Regions from separate parts of the Homo sapiens genome. Here regions 1, 2 and 3 are each linked to region 4. Evidence: promoter capture Hi-C in human tissues and cell types (Jung and others, 2019). All regions are on one chromosome and are shown on one strand. The core of a region is centred on a gene start or on the middle of the fragment in contact, and the rest is flanking DNA. Distances in the headings are between cores, read along the strand shown. Region 1 holds the start of LRFN4 (leucine rich repeat and fibronectin type III domain containing 4). Region 2 has its middle 15 kb from the start of AP5B1. Region 3 holds the start of RELA (RELA proto-oncogene, NF-kB subunit). Region 4 holds the start of CNIH2 (cornichon family AMPA receptor auxiliary protein 2).

The links. The method cuts DNA at HindIII sites, captures the fragments that hold promoters and counts their contacts. A contact is called where the count stands out against the background at its distance.
Region 1: the fragment with the promoter of LRFN4 here is called in contact with the fragment with the promoter of CNIH2 in region 4 in 1 of the 25 tissues and cell types used here (pancreas).
Region 2: a contact is called between a fragment that was not itself captured here and the fragment with the promoter of CNIH2 in region 4, in 1 of the 25 tissues and cell types used here (pancreas).
Region 3: the fragment with the promoter of RELA here is called in contact with the fragment with the promoter of CNIH2 in region 4 in 1 of the 25 tissues and cell types used here (bladder).

The regions. Positions count from the first base shown.
Region 1 is chr11:66,855,814-66,861,597 of GRCh38, forward strand. It overlaps LRFN4 (leucine rich repeat and fibronectin type III domain containing 4), which reads left to right and starts at 1,251. Exons shown (of 2, transcript NM_024036.5): 1 at 1,251-3,280; 2 at 3,824-4,662. The coding sequence starts at 1,932. The coding sequence ends at 4,382. All of the region lies in intron 12 of PC (pyruvate carboxylase), which reads right to left. RefSeq lists silencers at 337-866, 1,027-1,136. The HindIII fragment of the contact is 20,544 bases long and covers 1-5,784 here.
Region 2 is chr11:65,763,716-65,769,033 of GRCh38, forward strand. No RefSeq gene overlaps it. Among named protein-coding and RNA genes, the nearest start is that of AP5B1, 15 kb to the right of the region's middle. The HindIII fragment of the contact is 5,509 bases long and covers 1-4,731 here.
Region 3 is chr11:65,660,906-65,664,165 of GRCh38, forward strand. RELA (RELA proto-oncogene, NF-kB subunit) reads right to left here and starts at 2,011. Exons shown (of 11, transcript NM_021975.4): 1 at 1,921-2,011; 2 at 1,274-1,300; 3 at 1,032-1,183; 4 at 782-930. The coding sequence starts at 1,927. RELA-DT (RELA divergent transcript) reads left to right here and starts at 2,101. Exons shown (of 4, transcript NR_183625.1): 1 at 2,101-2,243. RefSeq lists silencers at 1,698-1,757, 1,818-2,227 and an enhancer at 2,318-2,517. The HindIII fragment of the contact is 29,460 bases long and covers 1-3,260 here.
Region 4 is chr11:66,276,925-66,282,080 of GRCh38, forward strand. CNIH2 (cornichon family AMPA receptor auxiliary protein 2) reads left to right here and starts at 1,251. Exons shown (of 6, transcript NM_182553.3): 1 at 1,251-1,613. The coding sequence starts at 1,533. It overlaps RAB1B (RAB1B, member RAS oncogene family), which reads left to right. Exons shown (of 6, transcript NM_030981.3): 6 at 1-568. It overlaps LOC107984340 (a long non-coding RNA gene), which reads right to left and starts at 1,601. Exons shown (of 2, transcript XR_001748274.1): 1 at 1,571-1,601. RefSeq lists a silencer at 1,027-1,356. The HindIII fragment of the contact is 9,186 bases long and covers 1-5,156 here.

The sequences.
Region 1 (5,784 bases), core at 1-2,500, 580 kb after region 4:
CATCCAACTCTCCTGGCCTACAGGAGGAACTTGTTTTCAGTGGTCAGGTAACGTGCCCAGGACTACACTGCTGTGCTGACAGGATCAGAATTCCAATCTTGGGTTTCCCCGAGTTTCCTGCCACCTGGCCCATGGGGATCAGGGCTGGAGGGAGAACGAGGATGGCTGAGGTTTAGGTGGCTTAAGGACCAGGAGACACGGGGAGGTGGTGACTTCCTGTTTCCCAACTGGGCAGACCACTGGTGGTGGCGGGCACAGCTGGAAGGAAACCAGGCTCGCCGAGCCACCGAAGCCCCAGCTTTCTCAACCAGGAAGCAAAGAACCTCCCCCACCTCACGCCGGGAGCCCTTTCTCTGAGAGGAGCTGGTTCCGAGCCGCTCTTCCAGGGAAATGGCCCGGCGGCGACAGAGCGGGAGGGAGGGGCCGCAGGCGCTGCGAGGACGCACAGCTTCCCAATGCGTGCCCCCGGCGGTTGGGAAGCCGCGCCGCGCAGACCAATCCGGCCCGAGGCGGAGGCCGGTTGGCTCCGGAACGCCTGGCCCGCGGGGCGGGCGGGGCAGCTGGGGAGGGAGGGAGAGGCGAGAGGCAGCTGGGGACAGGGCGGGGCGGCGGGGGCGGGGCGCCTGCCCGGAGGCCAAGCCCTCTCGGCCCCACCCCGCAGCAGCCCTGCCAGGGGCGCCGCCCCAGCCCCCCCCACGGCCGAACCCCGTGCCGGTTGGGGACCCTCCACGTGACTCGGTGATGCAGAACGGTTATGACCTTCAGCGTGTGTCTGTGAACGCAAGGGTCCCAGCAACAGTGCGGGTTTGCGCTCGGCCCTGCCCGTGGGTGCAGGGACGTGTGGGTGTGTGGGCATGTGTGGGTGTGTTGGGGAGGGTGCCCAGCGACATGTGACAAAGACGCCCGTCTCCGGGAGATGGTGAAGGGGCCCGCGAGCAGGCGCTTTGTCTGGCTGTCTGCAGAGTGAGGTTCGCGCCGCGGCGGCGGGCGCCCGTGCGGTGCAGGATGCCGGGGCGCCAGGATGGCCGGGGGCGCGCGCGCCTGTGCCAGGGTGAGTGCGCTGCGGCAGCGCCGGGGGACAGCGCGGAGGGCCCGCGCCGGCCCGGGCCTCGGGCGTGACTGGGCGCCACCCGTGGGCGCTGCAGCGGCCGCGTGTCCCCGTGACCTCAGGAGCCGGCCCGGGCCCGGGTGGATCCCCGCGCGCCCCTCCCCGTCCGCCCTCCACGTGCGTGTCCGCGGCGCGCGCGCCCGCCGGCGCGCACCCGCTCGCCTGTCGCCGCCGCCACCGCTAACCGCGCCGGGAAAAGGTGCCGGGAACCGAGCGAGCCGGGGCCGCGGGCCCGAGCGCCATGGGCCCGAGGGTGGGCGGCGGGCGGCCGGTCATCCCCGGGCCTCGTCCCCGCGGGAGAGCGGCCAGGAGTCGGCGGGGGCCGGCCGGGCTCGCAGGGAGGCCGGCCCGCGCCCCCTGAGCGACGGACACCAGGTGAGGGGGCCGCCGGGCGCAGCGCGGGGGCCGGCCAGGGAGGGGCCACGGACTCCACGGGAGGTTCGGGGGGCGCCTTCTCTGGCGGGGGAGGGTATGGCGGGGAGTGGGGAGGCGGCTGGCGATTCCTGGGGACGCCTGGGAAAGGAAGTTCCGGGACCCTCCCTGCTCTCGGTCCTCCTCCGCTTCCTGCCTCATGCCTCACCTTGTCCCCAGCGCCTGGACTCCCCCTTAACTGCTTGGGAAATGTGACCTTTGCTCTGGGGGGCCTGGCCCTGCAGGCCCCAACCTTCCCTCATCTCTGGCGGCCCTCTTGGGCCTCTGACCCAGCCCCTCCCCGGGCCAGGCTCACAGAAGCTGGCTTCTGGGACTGTCCTGGGCCCAAGTGGGCACCTGCGCCAGCCCCACCTGTGCCTGGGCTGTGGCCCCTTCCTACAGGGCGCTCACCATGGCCCCGCCGCTCCTGCTGCTGCTGCTGGCCAGTGGAGCGGCCGCCTGCCCGCTGCCCTGCGTCTGCCAGAACCTGTCCGAGTCGCTCAGCACCCTCTGTGCCCACCGAGGCCTGCTGTTTGTGCCGCCCAACGTGGACCGGCGCACAGTGGAGCTGCGGCTGGCTGACAACTTCATCCAGGCCCTGGGGCCCCCTGACTTCCGCAACATGACGGGACTGGTGGACCTGACACTGTCTCGCAATGCCATCACCCGCATTGGGGCCCGCGCCTTTGGGGACCTCGAGAGCCTGCGTTCCCTCCACCTTGACGGCAACAGGCTGGTGGAGCTGGGCACCGGGAGCCTCCGGGGCCCCGTCAATCTGCAGCACCTCATCCTCAGCGGCAACCAGCTGGGCCGCATCGCGCCGGGAGCCTTCGACGACTTCCTAGAGAGCCTGGAGGACCTGGACCTGTCCTACAACAACCTCCGGCAGGTGCCCTGGGCCGGCATCGGCGCCATGCCTGCCCTGCACACCCTCAACCTGGACCATAACCTTATTGACGCACTGCCCCCAGGCGCCTTCGCCCAGCTCGGTCAGCTCTCCCGCCTGGACCTCACCTCCAACCGCCTGGCCACGCTGGCTCCGGACCCGCTTTTCTCTCGTGGGCGTGATGCAGAGGCCTCTCCCGCCCCCCTGGTGCTGAGCTTTAGCGGGAACCCCCTGCACTGCAACTGTGAGCTGCTGTGGCTGCGGCGGCTGGCGCGGCCGGACGACCTGGAAACGTGCGCCTCCCCGCCCGGCCTGGCCGGCCGCTACTTCTGGGCAGTGCCCGAGGGCGAGTTCTCCTGTGAGCCGCCCCTCATTGCCCGCCACACGCAGCGCCTCTGGGTGCTGGAAGGCCAGCGGGCCACGCTGCGGTGCCGGGCCCTGGGTGACCCCGCGCCTACCATGCACTGGGTCGGTCCTGACGACCGGTTGGTTGGCAACTCCTCCCGAGCCCGGGCTTTCCCCAACGGGACCTTAGAGATTGGGGTGACCGGCGCTGGGGACGCTGGGGGCTACACCTGCATCGCCACCAACCCTGCTGGTGAGGCCACAGCCCGAGTAGAACTGCGGGTGCTGGCCTTGCCCCATGGTGGGAACAGCAGTGCCGAGGGGGGCCGCCCCGGGCCCTCGGACATCGCCGCCTCCGCTCGCACTGCTGCCGAGGGTGAGGGGACGCTGGAGTCTGAGCCAGCCGTGCAGGTGACGGAGGTGACCGCCACCTCAGGGCTGGTGAGCTGGGGTCCCGGGCGGCCAGCCGACCCAGTGTGGATGTTCCAAATCCAGTACAACAGCAGCGAAGATGAGACCCTCATCTACCGGTGAGGATGCGTGCCCCACACCCGGCTGCACTCCCGGCGCCCTTCCTCCGCCCTCTGCTCCCCACAAGGCTTTGCTTCCACCCCTCCTCTCTCTGGGGCTGACACCCCCTCCCCGACCATGGCTGCTGGACTCTTGGAGGAGCAGTGGCCTGGCCTGGCCTGGCTGCCTGAGGGGGCTGGAGCTCAAGGGGCGGCAGAAGGACCCCACCCCGAGATGTCCCAGGTGTCACTGAGCTGTGCAGGCCTCCCCGGCAGCAGGTGGCGGTTGGGTCTGTCTGAAGCACATGGCCCGCGCCCGCGTGTTATTTCTGCCTCTGCTGGTGCCATCCCCCCACCCCATTCCCCTCGCTTGCCTGCGTCCTGTGCCAGTGCACACACCCATCTCCTGGCCACACTCTCCAGCCTGTTCACCTTCCTGAGTGAACCCAAGAGCCCGAGTGGCCCCAGGGGGAGGGGTGTTTGGAGCTGGGAGCACGGGAGTGGGGAGGTGAGGATGGGGCTAGACCCCAGCCCCGGGCTCTGACCACCTGCCCTTGCCTGCAGGATTGTCCCAGCCTCCAGCCACCACTTCCTGCTGAAGCACCTCGTCCCCGGCGCTGACTATGACCTCTGCCTGCTGGCCTTGTCACCGGCCGCTGGGCCCTCTGACCTCACGGCCACCAGGCTGCTGGGCTGTGCCCATTTCTCCACGCTGCCGGCCTCGCCCCTGTGCCACGCCCTGCAGGCCCACGTGCTGGGCGGGACCCTGACCGTGGCCGTGGGGGGTGTGCTGGTGGCTGCCTTACTGGTCTTCACTGTGGCCTTGCTGGTTCGGGGCCGGGGGGCCGGAAATGGCCGCCTCCCCCTCAAGCTCAGCCACGTCCAGTCCCAGACCAATGGAGGCCCCAGCCCCACACCCAAGGCCCACCCGCCGCGGAGCCCCCCGCCCCGGCCGCAGCGCAGCTGCTCTCTGGACCTGGGAGATGCCGGGTGCTACGGTTATGCCAGGCGCCTGGGAGGAGCTTGGGCCCGACGGAGCCACTCTGTGCATGGGGGGCTGCTCGGGGCAGGGTGCCGGGGGGTAGGAGGCAGCGCCGAGCGGCTGGAAGAGAGTGTGGTGTGATGGACGGGCAGCTTCCTGTGTGCTCCAAGGGATGAGCCTCGTGGGGCAGAGGGCCCGGGGCCGCCGCCTGGCCTGGGAGTCCCTCCCTGGTTTTTATTCTCAGTACCTCAGGCTCCCCTGTGTACTTGGAGGGGCAGGGAGCCCTTTCCTCGGTTCTGGCCTCCAGACCAGGGTAAGGGCAGGCCCCTCCAACAGGTGCTCACAGCCACCGAGGCAGGGGCTGCAGCCACCCACTGGGAGTCTTGTTTTTATTTATAATAAAATTGTTGGGGACACCTCAGTGCTAGTCTCTGGTGTTGTCTGGCTAGGTCCCCCGAGACGGGAGGACAGGACACGGGCCGCTGGTGGCACACGGACAAGGGTGGGGCTACCAGGGCCGGTGGGGGCAGTCACAGCAGCCTGGGGCCTCCTGGCTTCCTGTCCACAGGGGCGGCCCAGGGCTGCGGCCAAGGGCTGTGCCTGGTGTCTTCTGACCTGCAAGAGCATGGGCTTGGGCAGGCGGCCTACCCTCGCCTGTAAGTGCAAAGAACGCCCCTTCCTGCCAGGTGGCGACAGGACGCCGTATCCAGTGTAAAGCCTGGGGAGCACGTGTGAGCGCCTTCCCCATGGCACTTCAGGGTCTGCGGGGCGGACACAGGACTGGACTAAGCAACAGGAGGAGGTGGGGGACGGTACAGCCCTCTGGGAGAACGGACCTGGGCTGAGCGTACAGTGAAAAGTCCTCATGGCTCCAGGTGCTGACAGCTGTGTCTGCCACCTCCCAGGGCATCTTGTGGACTGGTAAAACGCCATCCCAAAGGGACTGGAAGGGCAGGGAACCCCACTGCTCTGCCATCAGCCCGTGATCCTCTGGAAGGTTCCTGTCAGAACTGTGGGTCCGAGCAGGACCGCAGCTGCCAGCTCAGATGTGCTCTGGGCCTTCCTGGGAAGGCGGCCTTCGCCCTCCCTCGCTGCAGGGAGGCAGCCGGATGGGCACGAGCCCTGCTTTCTCTGCTAGGACCCCTGGCCAGGCCCGGGCAGCCTCCGACCTGGCCCAGCCCCTGCAGCCTCCTGAACTATCTGCTTCTAGGCACTGGCTGGGGGGCATGGGCAGACGTGGCCCTCAGCCCTGCAGAGGGTCAAGCTCCCCCAGGTGCTGTATGAAAACTCAGAAGGCGGCCCTGGCACCCCAGGCCACGGCAAACACGCTGCACAGACTCCCTGGTGTTTTCTGTGTGAGGGCCAAGGCGCTGCCACCGGGCAGCCGAGGTGAGGCAGGTGCTCTAAGGCATACGTGTGTTCACGTGTGCATGGACCTGGCTCACACGCGTGTGCCTGCCCTCCCAGCCCCAGAACATGCAGCTAGAGGTGGGCTTCGAGAGCCTGGTTTAGATGAATGGGAGCAAGGTCCTCGACAGAGAAG
Region 2 (5,318 bases), core at 727-3,226, 510 kb before region 4:
AGGGAGAGGGAGACCGTGGAAAGGGGAGAGGGAGAGCGATTTTCTGACTTTTAAACCTTTTATTCTCCACTTAGTGGCATAAAGGAATCTCTATTATGCAAAACTAATCTGAAAGTGAATAGTTATATAGTGGCTACAGAAAATTTTACCTTTTTTTTTTTTAGACGGATCCTCCAGGTTGGAATGCAGTGGTGTGATCTTGGCTCACTGCAACCTCTGCCTTCCGGTTTCAAGCAATTCTCCCGCCTCAGCCTCCCGAATAGCTGGGATTACAGGTGCATGCCACCACACCTGGCTACTTCTTGTATTTTTAGTAGAGATGGGGTTTCACCATATTGGCCAGGCTGGTCTCGAACTCCTGACCTTGTAATCCCCGGCCTCAGCCTCCCAAAGTGCTGGAATTACAGGTGTGAGCCACTGGGCCCGGTCGAAATATTTTCTATATCCATATTAAATGTGATTCTCTGTTCGTTGCCTGATTCTCACCAAATAGGGCAAGTAATTAAGGTTTCGCAAACACTTTGTTAGAATGGGCAACATTACATCAGAGGAGAATCGTCATGTTATTTGAAGTTGGTTTATCACTCTGCACCTCACTCTTATGTAGAAACTTGACTGACCACAAACACAAATGTTTTAACATTTAAATATCTGTGTATTCATTTTTATACTTCTTGAAAGTACTTCTAGGAGTACAAACATGAACTGCTAACAAGTCCTTTTTCCCCCAGATGGCAATATTATTGTGGGGGTAGAAGCATCTTCTGTCCTAACAAGAGGACCGACTCTTGCTGGCTCCTGGATGAGGCCTGGTCGCCAGAAAGATCAAGCCATAATGAGAAGCTTGAACCTTTCAGTCCCACCCCCCATTCTTCAGGAAGGGGAGAGAGGCTGGAGACTGAGTTAATAATCAACCATGCCTGGGTGATGAAGCCTCCATAAAAATCCTGGAACTACAGAATCTGGAGAGCTATTGGGCTGCTGAACACGTGAAGGTGCCTAGATGGTGGCACATCCCAGAGAGGGCAGGGAAGCTTAGCGGGTCTTCTGACATGCTTTGCCCTGTGCATCTGTATTCTGTTTAATAGTCTTTAGAATAAATGGGTAAACGTAAGTAAAGTTTCCCTGAGTTCTGTGAGCTGGCCTAGAAATTATCAAACTCCAGGATGGGGTTGTGGGAACCCCTATTTATAGCTCATTGGACAGAGGCACAGGTCACAGCCTGCGGCTTGCGACTGGCTTCTGAGGTGTGCACAGTCTTGCAGGACTGAGCCCTTAACCTGTGGGTTCTGACTGTAACTCCAGGTAGATGGTGTCAGAATTGAATTAAATTATAAGACACCCTGTTAGTGTCCACTAGAGAATTGTTTGGTGTGTGGGTTTGATCACCCACACATTTTGGTGATCAGAAGCATTCTATGTTGAGTGTGAATGTAGAAGGAAAAACAGTCCATTGTTTCCTAACTCATACAAAGGCTAAGGTGCTGTATGTGGGCAGTCTTTGCTTTGCCCAGTCCCCATATGGACATATTTGGCTTACCACATTTTAGTTTAATAACTCCAGTCCTCCCCACCAGCATGGTTCAAACTTCATTTGCCATGGAATTTTAACGAATTGTATAAGGTGCAAACCTTGCTGCTGGCTCTTTAGTCCAAAAAAATGACATAAATAACAGATGGGCATCATGATTAGGACATCACTGCTTTCGAAGACTAGTGGTGATTGGCTGGTCAGTGCCGGTGTGTTATTCAGCTCATGCAGACGTCAGACAAGTGTATAGGTGGGTTGCCTCCTCATCTCTCAGTGATCAACAGATATAACATTTTATGAAATTCAATGATTGGGCTGGGCGCAGTGGCTCACACCTGCAATCCCAGCACTTTGGGAGGCTGAGGTGGATGGATCACTTGAGGTCAGGAGTTCAAGACCATCCTGGCCAACATGGTGAAACCCTGTCTCTACTAAAAATACAAAAATTAGCCAGGCGTAGTGGTGGGCGCCTATAATCCCAGCTACTCGGAGGCTGAGGCAGGAGAATCACTTAAACCTGGGAGGCAGAGGTTGCCGTGAGCCGAGATTGTGCCACCGCACTCCAGCCTGGGTGACAGAGTGAGACTCCATCCATCTCAAAAAATAAATAAATAAAAAATAAATTGGATGGATAATTGGAAGGGGGAATGGCTAACAAATATAAAAGTGCAGCCAAAAAAAATGAGGATGATAAGACTGGAAGTGAAATTGTATATGAAGCTGTGGCATGAACTATATCGAAAGTCTGATGAATATCATGATATGGTTTGGATGCTTGTCCCCTCCAATTGTCATGTTGAAATGTGACCACCCCAATGTTGGAGGTGGGGCTTAGTGGGAGGTGTTGGGCTATGGGAGTGGATCCCTCAGGAATGGCTTGGTGCCCTCTTCGAGGTAATGAGTGGTAGTAAATTCACACAAGAACTGGTTATTTAAAAGAGTGTGGCAGCTCCCCCTCCCTCTCTCTTGCTCCCTCTCTTGCCATGTGATACACTGCTCCCTCTTTGCCCTCTGCCATGATTGTAAGCTTCCTGAGGCCTCACCAGAAGCAGGTGCTGGTGCCATGCTTCTCGTACAGACTGTAGAACCGTGACCCAAATAAACGTCTTTTTTGTATAAATTACCTAGTCTCCAGTGTTCCTTTAGAGCAACACAAAATAAACTAATACATATAATAAACAAGGTAAAGTTGCTTCAACATATTTTTTTTAAATTTTTTTCTTTTAATTTACTTTTTTTTCTTTGTTGCCCAGGCTAGTCTCGAACTCCTGAGCTCAAGCAATCCTCCCACCTCAGCCTCCCAAAGTGCTGGGATTACAGGCATGAGCCGCCACGCCCAGGCTGCTTCAACATCTTTTAGTTTAAATTGCGCTGGAAACAGAAGTCGTTCGTGGTTGAAATGGAATGTTTACTTCTATGTTGAACTGAAGACTGTAATTTGTTAACAATCCCCATTGGTTTGGCCAGCATTCAGGCTGAAGCATTGAAGTTAATTGCCACATTGACAGAAAACAGTAATTTCAAGGAGACTGCAGAAACTTTTACTAACGGTAAAGAGTGGTTTGTTTCATCATTTCAGAAGTTGGCATGAATTGATTAATGTGAAACTGTCAAGCACAGATGAGGATGTTGCTGTGAAATCTATCCCCAGATGTCAAGGATTTTTTTTTTTTGTCAGTGTCTCGTTCTGTTGCCCAAACTGTACTGCAGTGGCACAATCATGGCTCACTGCAGCCTCAAACTCCTGAGCTCAAGCAATCCTCCTGCCTCAGCCTCCCAAGTAGCTTAGATGCTAGGCATGTGCCACCACACCCAGCTAGGTTTTTACATTTTTTTAGAGGCCAGGGGCGGTGGCTCATGCCTGTAATCCCAACACTTTGGGAGGCCATGGCTGGCGGATCACCTAAGGTCAGGAGTTTGAGACCAGGCTGGCCAACATGGTGAAACCCCGTCTCTACTAAAAATACAAAAATTAGGCCAGGCATGGTGGCACACGACTGTAATCCCAACACTTTGGGAGACCAAGGAGGGCAGGTCACCAGGTCAGGAGTTCGAGACCAGCCTGGCCAGCATAGTGAAACCCCATCTCTACTAAAAATACAAAAAAAAAATTTTTTTTCTAGAAATGGGGTCTCACTATATTGCCCAGGCTGGTCTTGAACTCCTGAGCTCAGGCAATCCTCCTGCCTTAGCCTCCCAAAATGTTAAGGACTATAGGCATGAGCTACCACATCCAGCTGATTTTGTTTGTTTAACTAACCACTATACTAACGAGGATCAAGGATAATTATTACGGCAGGCAGTGGTTACAAAAAGGATAAAGATATCCTAGAAGAAATGCCGCTGGCAAAAAGTTTAAAAGAACTTGGAGATATTTCACAACGTTGGAAGTACAAAGGATAAGATGTTGAAAGTTGATCCAAACTTAGGAAGGAGTATGACAATTTGCCAAGGCATGGAAAACGTGTTTTTTTTTTTTCTTTTGAGACGGAGTCTCGCTCTTGTCGCCCAGGCTGGAGTGCAATAGCGCAATCTCGGGTCACTGCAACCTCCACCTTCCAGGTTCAAGTGATTCTCCTGCCTCAGCCTCCTGAGTAGCTGGGATTATAGGCACCCACCACAACACCCAGCTAATTTTTGTATCTTTAGTAGAGACGGGGTTTCACCATGTTGGGCAGGCTGGTCTTAAACTCCTGACCTCAAGTCATCTGCCCGCCTTGACCTCCCAAAGTGCTGGGATTACAGGCATGAGTCACCGTGCCCGGCCTTCTTTTTCTTTTTTTTTTTTGAGACAAGGCCTCACCCTGTCACCCAGGCTGGAGTGCAGTGGTGTGATCATGGCTTACTGCAACCTTGAACTCCTGGGCTCAAGCTGCCATCCTCCTGCCTCAGCCTCCTGAGCAGCTAGGACTTCAGGCATGCGCCACCACACTTGGCTGTTGTGTTTTTTCTTTTTTTTTTTTTTAATTTTTGTAGAGACAGGGTCTCACTATGTTGCCCAGGCTGTTCTCAAACACCTGGCCTCAAGCTATCTTCCTACCTTGACCTCCCAAAGTGCTGGAATTACAGGTGTGAGCCACCATGCTCAGCCCATATATAGTATTTATAATCGTTCTCTTTGGTGTGGATGAAACACATCTCTATCAGACTGGCTCATGGGTGCAGAATTCCATAGGTACTTACTGAAAAACAGAAAATTGTTTCCTATAATCATGATACTTGAAGGATAGTTTGTCTGAATATAAAATCCTGGCTCACACTTGTAAAGGTGTAATGTCTAAAACCTGCTGCTCCATTGCTGTCTTGCTTTGTATGCTGGTTTAAAAAGTCTGCTGTTGGCCTGGCGCAGTGGCTCACGCCTGTAATCCCAGCACTTTGGGAGTCGGAGGCCGGCGGATCATGAGGTCAGGAGATCAAGACCATCTGGCTAACATGGTGAAACCCCGTCTCTACTAAAAAAAAATACAAAAAATTAGCCGGGTGTGGTGGTGGGCACCTGTAGTCCCAGCTACTCGGGAGGCTGAGGCAGGAGAATGGTGTGAACCTGGGAGGCGGAGCCTGCAGTGAGCCGAGATCGCGCCATCGCACTCCTGCCTGGGCAACAGAGCGAGACTCCGTCTCAAAAAAAAAAAGTCTGCTGTCATTCTCATTATTTAATTATTTTGCCTTTGTGAGTTATTTGATCTTTTTGCCTGGAGTCCTTGAGGGTTTTTTTAAAAGAGTCTTTGAGGCTGGGCACAGTGGCTCACACCTGTAATCCCAGTACTTTGGGAGGCCGAGGTGGGCA
Region 3 (3,260 bases), core at 761-3,260, 620 kb before region 4:
GCAGGCACCTGTAGTCCCAGCTATTCGGGAAGCTGAGGCAGGAGAATGGCATGAACCCGGAAGGTGGAGGTTGCAGTGAGCTGAGATCGCGCCACTGCACTCCAGTCTGGGGACAGAGCAAGACTCTTTCTTAAAAAAAAAAAAAAAAAAAAAAAGACAAGGTATCGCCCTGCCACCCAAGTGCAGTGGTGCAATCATAGCTTGCCGCAGCAGTGACCTCCTGGGCTCAGGCGATCCTCCCACCTCAGCCTCCCTGGGACTATAGGCGCATGCCACCATACCCAGCTAATTTCTTATTTTTTGTAGACATGGGGTCTCACTATGTTGCCTTGGCTAGTCTTGAATTCCTAGGCTCAAGAGATCTTCCTGCCTTGGCCTCCCGAAGTGCTAGGATTATAAGCATGAGCCACTATGCCCGGCCTGTATATTTTTTTACAGCCTGTCTCTGTCAACTGCAATGTCAACTCCAGGGGAGAGTGCTGGTTCAATGGTTTTCTTCCTCAAACAAGAGACGTGACTCTGAGGGACTTGTCCTTCCAGCTACAGGGGTCAGGAATTCAGAAGTGATTAGGGACCCATCCGTATCCCCTGGAACTCATCTGCTAGAGTAAACGTACAAATAGATAATTTCAAGACAAAGGCAGTTTACTTGCAGAGCTGAGTCAGGGCAAGGAGTGAGGAATTCTGCCCTGGGTCCAGAAAGGAGTAACACTGTAGCGGCTACTTCATAGCCCGCCTCCTGTCCCCTCATGCTGGGCCTCCTAGCCTGCAGGGACCTCACCTGTGGATGCAGCGGTCCGGGCAGAGCTCAGCCTCATAGAAGCCATCCCGGCAGTCCTTTCCTACAAGCTCGTGGGGGTGAGGCCGGTGAGGAGGGTCCTTGGTGACCAGGGAGATGCGCACTGTCCCTGGTCCTGTGTAGCCATTGATCTGTCCAAAGTACAGAGGCCCAGACATCCAAACCTGACTCCCAAACACAGAGGGCTGGGGTTCCACAGTCCCTTCCCCGCACACCCTGGCGCAGTGCTGACCTTGATGGTGGGGTGGGTCTTGGTGGTATCTGTGCTCCTCTCGCCTGGGATGCTGCCCGCGGAGCGCCCCTCGCACTTGTAGCGGAAGCGCATGCCCCGCTGCTTGGGCTGCTCAATGATCTCCACATAGGGGCCAGAGGCCTGGGCTGGCTCTGCCAGGGGACACCGCAGCCCCATTAGGCGGCTGCCCCCACTGCCCTACCCCAGGGAGCACCTCCCCGACCGCCGCGGGGGCCACTTACCTGCCGGGAAGATGAGGGGGAACAGTTCTGAAAGGGGAGGGAGATCAGGGTCAGCACACACCCAATGCCCATTCTCACAAGGAGGAATCTGCTCTCCACGGAGAGGAGAAGCCAGGCTCCCTCCCAGGGGAACTGAGTCAGGACCTGCTCCCTAGAACCTGCGGTGAAACTAAGGGGTGGAGGAAAGGAACCAGAAACACCTGCTTCTTGAGGGAAAACGGGGTAAGGAATCCTTCTTCTCCAGAGGGAAGCTGAATCAGGGCCTGTTGTACTTTCTTAAGGAAAATTGAGGGAGGGCACGCCCCACCTCCCTCCAGAGAGGAAACTGAATCAGATGCGTTCTCCCCTAATAGGGAAACGAAGCCAGAGCTGCCCCCATGGACGGTGTGGAGGGAAACTGAGTCAAGGTTCCCTCTGCTCCCCCACCCAGGGAGGATGCTGAGTCAAGGGCCACCCCCTCCACCCAGAGGGGAAACTGAGTCAGACCCCTCCCCGCCTGCCCCGCCCCGCGCCACCATCCGGCAGGCCGACCGCTCCCTGCGCAGCGCCCGTCGGCGCAGGAAGGGGCGGAAAGCGGCGCGGGGGCTCCCGCCACAGCCGCGGCGGCCCCGGCGATGCCACCCCGCGGGGTCAGAGGGCGACCTCACCGTCCATGGCCGGGGTCCCGGGGGCGGGGCCGGGGTCGCAGCTGGGCCCGCGGCGTGCACTACAGACGAGCCATTCGCCAGAGGCGGAAATGCGCCGCGCGGCCCGCCGTCGCGTCACTGCCCGGAATCCGGCCGCGCCTGCGCGCTGCCCCGCCGCCGCCCGGCGCAGGGGCCGGGAGCAAGTGCACGCCGCGCGGAGGACGAAGAGGCTGCACGCACAGCCGCTGCCGGGGGTCGGGGCCAAGTGCGCGCCTCGCCGAGGACGAAGAGGCTGGCGTGCCCGGTGGCTCGGCTAGCTCCCGGGTCCCGGCCCCGCCTGGAGGGTGGGTCCGCCGATTACTCACTTTGTTTTTAGGGGATTTCAGGGCCCCCTCCCGCCGATCGGCGGAGTTTGGTGATGTCACTCTGGGCCGGGTCTGGAGCAAAGCCAGGGCTACTGGGCTGCGGCCGCCCGCCCCGCGCAGGGAAAAGCCCGACCGGGCCTTCTGCTCCGCAGAGGCCGGGTGGTTGAACTCCGCGCGGGTTTCCTAACCGCTAAAGGTGCCTTTCGGTGGTGGCTGTCTCAGAAGCACGTTAAAATGTCCTACCCACCCCAATCTAGATGCGGCTGTGGGGGAATGGGAGCGGCCGGACCTCCCAGCCTGACAGTGCATCAAGAGCTTTGCGGAGCCTACAGCCCGGATGGGACGACTGAGGCCCTCCCGCTGGCGAGCTGGCCGAGGGCTCGTCCCTCTCCAGCTAAAGCGCCAGCTTACGATACAGCCAAACTGCCGGCTCTCATCGGCTGTGGGAGCAGGAGGCCCCCAGGGGTAAATCCCGGAGCCTCGTCTCTGAAGCCTGGCGCTTGTGTCTCAGAAGGTGCGGGACCCACAGGGACACTTGAATCAGCAGGCTCACGACCCCCCACCCCCCTGCCCCCGCCTGTGTTTGCCCTGGACCTCCAGCTAGGGCTGACCACTAATTCTGTCATGTGACCCCACAGTGCAGGTAGCTCCCCCAAGACCAAGCCCAAGGCGCGTCCGTGTGGAGGCTGGGGCTGACGCACCCCCACCCCAGGCCTCATCCCCAAAGGAGGATGCTCCACTGCAGGGGGCGGAGTCTTCTCCAGATGGAGAAAGACTTTTTTATTTTCTCTGAATTCGTCTTAAATTAGGAAATCATGTGGGAATTGGAAAAGATTGGAAATTCTGACTTGTTTCCCAGGCTCTGAAGAAACAGGAAGAGAAAAGTGAAAATAGAGTTAGCACCCCGCCCACTCATTTCAGTTTCTCCAGTGGCTGGCCCTGATTAGAAAAGTGTTTACTTTTGGCAGGGGGCGGGGGAGGCCGACTTCAGGTGAC
Region 4 (5,156 bases), core at 1-2,500:
AGACAGACCCATGCGCTGCCTGCCCACCGTGCCCCTTTGTCCCCATGTCAGGCGGAGGCGGAAGGCCCACCGTGCCAGAGGCTGGGCACCAGCCTTAACCCTCACTCTGCTAGCACCTCCTCCCTTTCCCCAAGGTAGCACATCTGGCTCACTCCCCACTCCGTCTCTGGAGCCCACCAGGGAAGGCCCTCATCCCCTGCCGCTACTTCTCTGGGGAATGTGGGTTCCATCCAGGATTGGGGGCCTCTCTGCTCACCCACTCTGCACCCAGGATCCTAGTCCCCTGCCCTCTGGCACAGCTGCTTCCTGCAAGAAAGCAAGTCTTTGGTCTCCCTGAGAAGCCATGTCCCTCGTGCTGTCTCTTGCCTGTCCCACCTGTGCCCTGCCCTCCAGCTTGTATTTAAGTCCCTGGGCTGCCCCCTTGGGGTGCCCCCCGCTCCCAGGTTCCCCTCTGGTGTCATGTCAGGCATTTTGCAAGGAAAAGCCACTTGGGGAAAGATGGAAAAGGACAAAAAAAATTAATAAATTTCCATTGGCCCTCGGGTGAGCTGAGGGTTTTTGCAAGGAAGTTGTGGTGGCCAAGTGTGGTCTGTGGTCTAAGCCCAGCCTTGGGGTGGGGGGATGGAACTGGAACCCTGGGCTTGGTGGGGTGCACGGGGGTCCTGGCTTGGTTTCTGTGTCCTAAGGCTGCTGGCAAAAGCCCTTGACCCCGTTTCCTGAGGCCAGGAAAGCTGCTTGTGCTTCTGTGGTCTGTCCCCAAGGGCCCAGCACCGTTCTGTCAGGGAAAGAGGCAGGCGGCCATCAGCTCATACCTGGCGTGCCGCCGCCAACTCCCGCGGGGCACACGGCAGAGGTGTGGGGTCGCGCAGCCGCTGAGAGGGCCCCCACTGCACCTGGCCCAACCTCCTTCAGCGCCCCCCAAAACCCCACTGCTCCCATTCAGCCCCTGTCCTGGCGTCATTGTGTGTCCCAGCCAGGTGCTTCTGCCGTCTCCGACAGTGACAAGTGCCTCGCACTTCAGCCTTTGCCCTGAGCGCCCGCCCGAGGGGGCCGAGTGCGGCTGTGCCGGTGGCTGGAGTGCCGAGGGGTGCGGGGTGCCGGGGGCGGCCGCGTCTACGCTGTCCGGAGGGTGAACGGCCGCGGGCTTGTCGGGGCTGGGGGTGGCGCCCGAGCCGGGCGGGCAGACGAGGGGCCCGCGGAGACCCAGCCCCGCCCGAGGCCGCTCGCGCGGCGGCCCCGCCCCCGGCTCCGCCCCGCCGGCTTCGCGGGCTGGAGAGCGAGGGAGCCGCGGGCGAGGGATCGCAGGATGAGCGATCGGGGCCCGGGCAGCCGGCAGCGGACGCGCCCCCCGAGCCCACCGGCCCGCGCCCCGCGCCCCCCACGGCCCCGCGGTCCCGGTCCCGGCCGCATCACCCACGTCCCCCGAGCCCCACGGGCCATGCCCGGCCGGCCCTAAGCGCGGGCCGGGGGGCGTCCCCTTGCGCCCGGGCCCCGCGCTGGCGCCCCCCGGGCCGCCGCCCGGCGCGGGGGCCATGGCGTTCACCTTCGCCGCGTTCTGCTACATGCTCACCCTGGTGCTGTGCGCCTCCCTCATCTTCTTTGTCATCTGGCACGTAAGGCCGGGCTGGGGCTGGGGCTGGGGGCGGGGTGGGGGGCAGGGGCCACGCGGAGCTGGAGGGACCCAGGGCGGGTGGTCTCAGAGCCCAGGGGAAACTTGCTATCCCCCAGCCGTCGGCTTGTCGGCTTCGCCCCCATTAACACCCCCCGTGGTCGGCTTTCTTCCCGGGGCCCCCCTTCCTCCGCCGCCCCCGCCTGTCTGTGTGTATGTCAGTCGGTCTCTGACCCCCTCCTCTGCCCTCGTCCTCTGCTCCCATGCAGCCCGTGAGGTGGGGGGTGGAATTCTGGCATTTTTGTTGCTTTATCTTCTATGTCCCCCCCCACCACCATCCAGCCGCCTCCATTAGTCCGTCGGGCAGTTTGTCTGTCTGCTGCCCCCCCCCCCCCGCCTTTGTGGGTTTTTCCAGCCAGAGTGATGGAGCTGGTTGCTATGGCAACTGCATCTGTTTACAGGACCCACAGATCTCAGAGTCCATTAACCCTTTGCCTTCCCAGCCCCCTCCCTGACCAAGCAGCAGTTGGCTCTCATCAGCCCCCAGAGACCTAGCCCCCACCACCGGCTCACCTTGGGTTTCCCTACCCCTCCTGTTGGGGGCTTCCCAGCCCCCCAGGTTTCCTCTCCATTTTCCAGCTTCCCTCCTCTTCCTGTCCCCCTTCCCCTTTGTCTCTCACATACCCCTTGGTCTGTCCCTCGCCCTGGCCTAGCCTCACACCTGGTTCTTCAAAATGTCCATTCCTCATCCTGCATCCGACCCATCGCTTCCCCCAGGCTCCCTCCTCCTCCCCTCCCGCTCCTCTCCTCCAGGGCCTCCTCTGCCTGGCTCCCGTCCCCTCACTACAGAACTATCAATCAGCCTCCAGCTGGTTGTTGGGGGCCCCTGGCCCCACTTTACTGCCCTCCGTCCCCACCCCCACCCAAACCCCGTGCCTGTTTCTGTAACAGCCTGCCCAGCTCGGCCCTGGCTGGCTCAGCTCAGCATCCTCTGCTCACACCTCCCGCGCACACCTCCCTGATTGTCATTCCCTTTCAGGGGTCCTCTTATCCCTCCCTCAATCCCATTTCCCATAGCCCTTCCCTCCTTCCTCCCGGTGCCTCACCTGCTTCTTTCCCGGGCTCTCCACTTCCTCTCTCCTTTCTCTTCCTGGGACCTGCCGCCTGCTCCATGGTTCCCCCTGCGCTCCCTTTGCCATCCCCTGCCACCTTGCTCTTTGACATCGGGAATCCATAGACTGAACCCCTACTGTGTGAAGAGTGAGCCCCCAAAGGCACCTCAGCACACACCCCAGCTCCAGCCCTGTCACTCCTTGGCCTGGCTCTGCTCTCTCTCTGGGTCTTGGTTGCTTTGTCTTTCCCCCTCTCCCCCGCACCCCGAGTTACTCTATTTTTCTTTCTGTGGGGTAGGGGCAGGAGGGCTAGGGTTCTAAGGACTGGAGGGAGCTGGGGGCCACAGGCTAGGGAATGCAGAGCTGACCAGCTCCTGGGAGAAGGGCTCCTGGAATTCAAGAAGCCTCTTTTTGGGGCCTTCCCCACCCAGGGCCTTCCCACAGCCCCTGTGGGGTCCCTGTCCTCAGGGGATCCTCAGCAGTTTATCCACCACGCCTGCATTGATGCTTCCCAAAGATCAGGCTCTGGGTGGCTTTGAGGGGGTCAAGGATGAATAAAACCCAGACTTTGCCCTTGTGGAGTGCCCAGGCTGGGAGGAAAGGCCCAAGCTTTGAAGAAATGTCTTTGTTCATTCAACAGATATTGATTGAGCACCTGTGTGAGGTACTCTGTCCACTCAGCCATTTAGCTGGACAATCTTAGCAAGTCATTTGTCCCAAGTCTGGTTCCTCGCCGGCAAAGTGGACCTGTGCACATCAGAGTGCCTAGTGCGGCCTGCTGGGTGGTAGGGGATAGGAGGCGTGGTCCTCAGTCCACAGCTGCTAAGAACTAGACTCTTAACAGGGCGGGACCCCAGATCCCACTCCAGACCCTCAGCCCAGGCCCCAGTGGTTCCTAGGCAACCCTGGCGGTGAGTGACGCGTGTCAGCTGTCACCATGGGGGATTGTTTGTTCCGGGGGGCTGAGTCAGCGCCAGGCAGCCTGGGGGGTGGGAGGGGTGACGCCCGCCGCCTGCTGGTGGTGCCAGCTCTGGGGTACAGACGGCACCCTTCTGCTCCCTGTGGACCCTGTTGCTGTGCGTGCCAAGTGGCGCTGCCCAGAGTCAATGGGGAGCTGGGCGGGGAGGGGGGATGATCCAGATGGCCTCAGCTCCCTCCAGGAAGCCCATGTTCTTTCTCTCTGAGCCGTCTGGGGCCTGGGATGCCTGGGGGTGGTGGGCCTGCTGCCTCATCCTAGGGCTGGAGCCGACAGGAGGGGACCCCAGCAGGCTCCTCTGCCAGCCCATTTCCCCCAAGTCACCTGTCAGCTCCTTCCCATCCCATCATCCCCTCAAACACTTGCTCCCCTGGAGAGTTTCCACCCGTGAGGACACTGCCGTCTGCCAGACACCCCAACACCTGAAGCCACCTTAGATTTCTGCCTTCACTTCTCAGCCATTTGAACCCTCTGGAGTCTGGCTCCTAAAGAGCTGTAGAATCCCATGCACGCCTTCCGTCTCCACTACAACTCTCCTCACTCAGACCACCATCAGCCCTGCCCCTAACCCTCCAAACCGTCCCCTTGCTGGTCTGGCCTGAGTATGACACAGTGGTTAGGAATTTTAACTCTGGAGTCACACTGGGTTAGAATCCACTAACCAGCCGTGTGGCCCTGGACAAGTCACTTAACCTGCCTCAGCTTCCTCATCTGCAAAACAGACATGAAAATAAAACTAGTACCTAAGTCATAAGGTTGTTAAGAATTAAATGAGTGAATCCACATACCGGCCAGGAGAAGCACCACTTAGATCTCAGCTGTGACTGTCAGTGAGCTCGGATTTCCTGCCCCACCAATCCTGAGACATGGACCAATCCTAAGACATGGACCTGACCACCCCACTCTGCTGCTGTGTACTCTTCAATGCCTCCCCCCAAAATTTTTGTGTTAAAGTAAGTCCAAACTCCTGCTCTGGCCTCACAGGGCGCCCATGTCTGGCTCTGCTGAATTCTCCAGCTCCTCTTCCACCACTCTCTCTTTTCTTCCTGCTCGCTGCGCTGTCACGCCAGCCCCATGAAACCCGCAGCCTCCTGAATGTCTCCTGACCTTTCACCCCTCTGCCATTGCACCTTCTACTGCTTGGACTGCATTTCCCCCATTTGCTCACCAACACCTACTCCGAGTCCAGCCTGAACTCCCTCACCCCCCACACAGGGTTAAGCGCCCACTCCAGGTCCTCCCTGTACCCCAAACCCTGATCACCTGGAAGGCAGAGTGATCATCCCTCTGGGCCTGGGTTCCTCCTGGGCAGGGGCTGCATCCCAGGCCTCTGGAGCCCCAGTGCTCAGCACAGGGCCTGAGACTTGGCAGGGCAGACACGAAGCCATGTCTTGGGATGTTTTGGAAGGGGGTGTAGTGGACATGGGCCTGAACTGGGCATCCAGACGCTAGGGTTCCC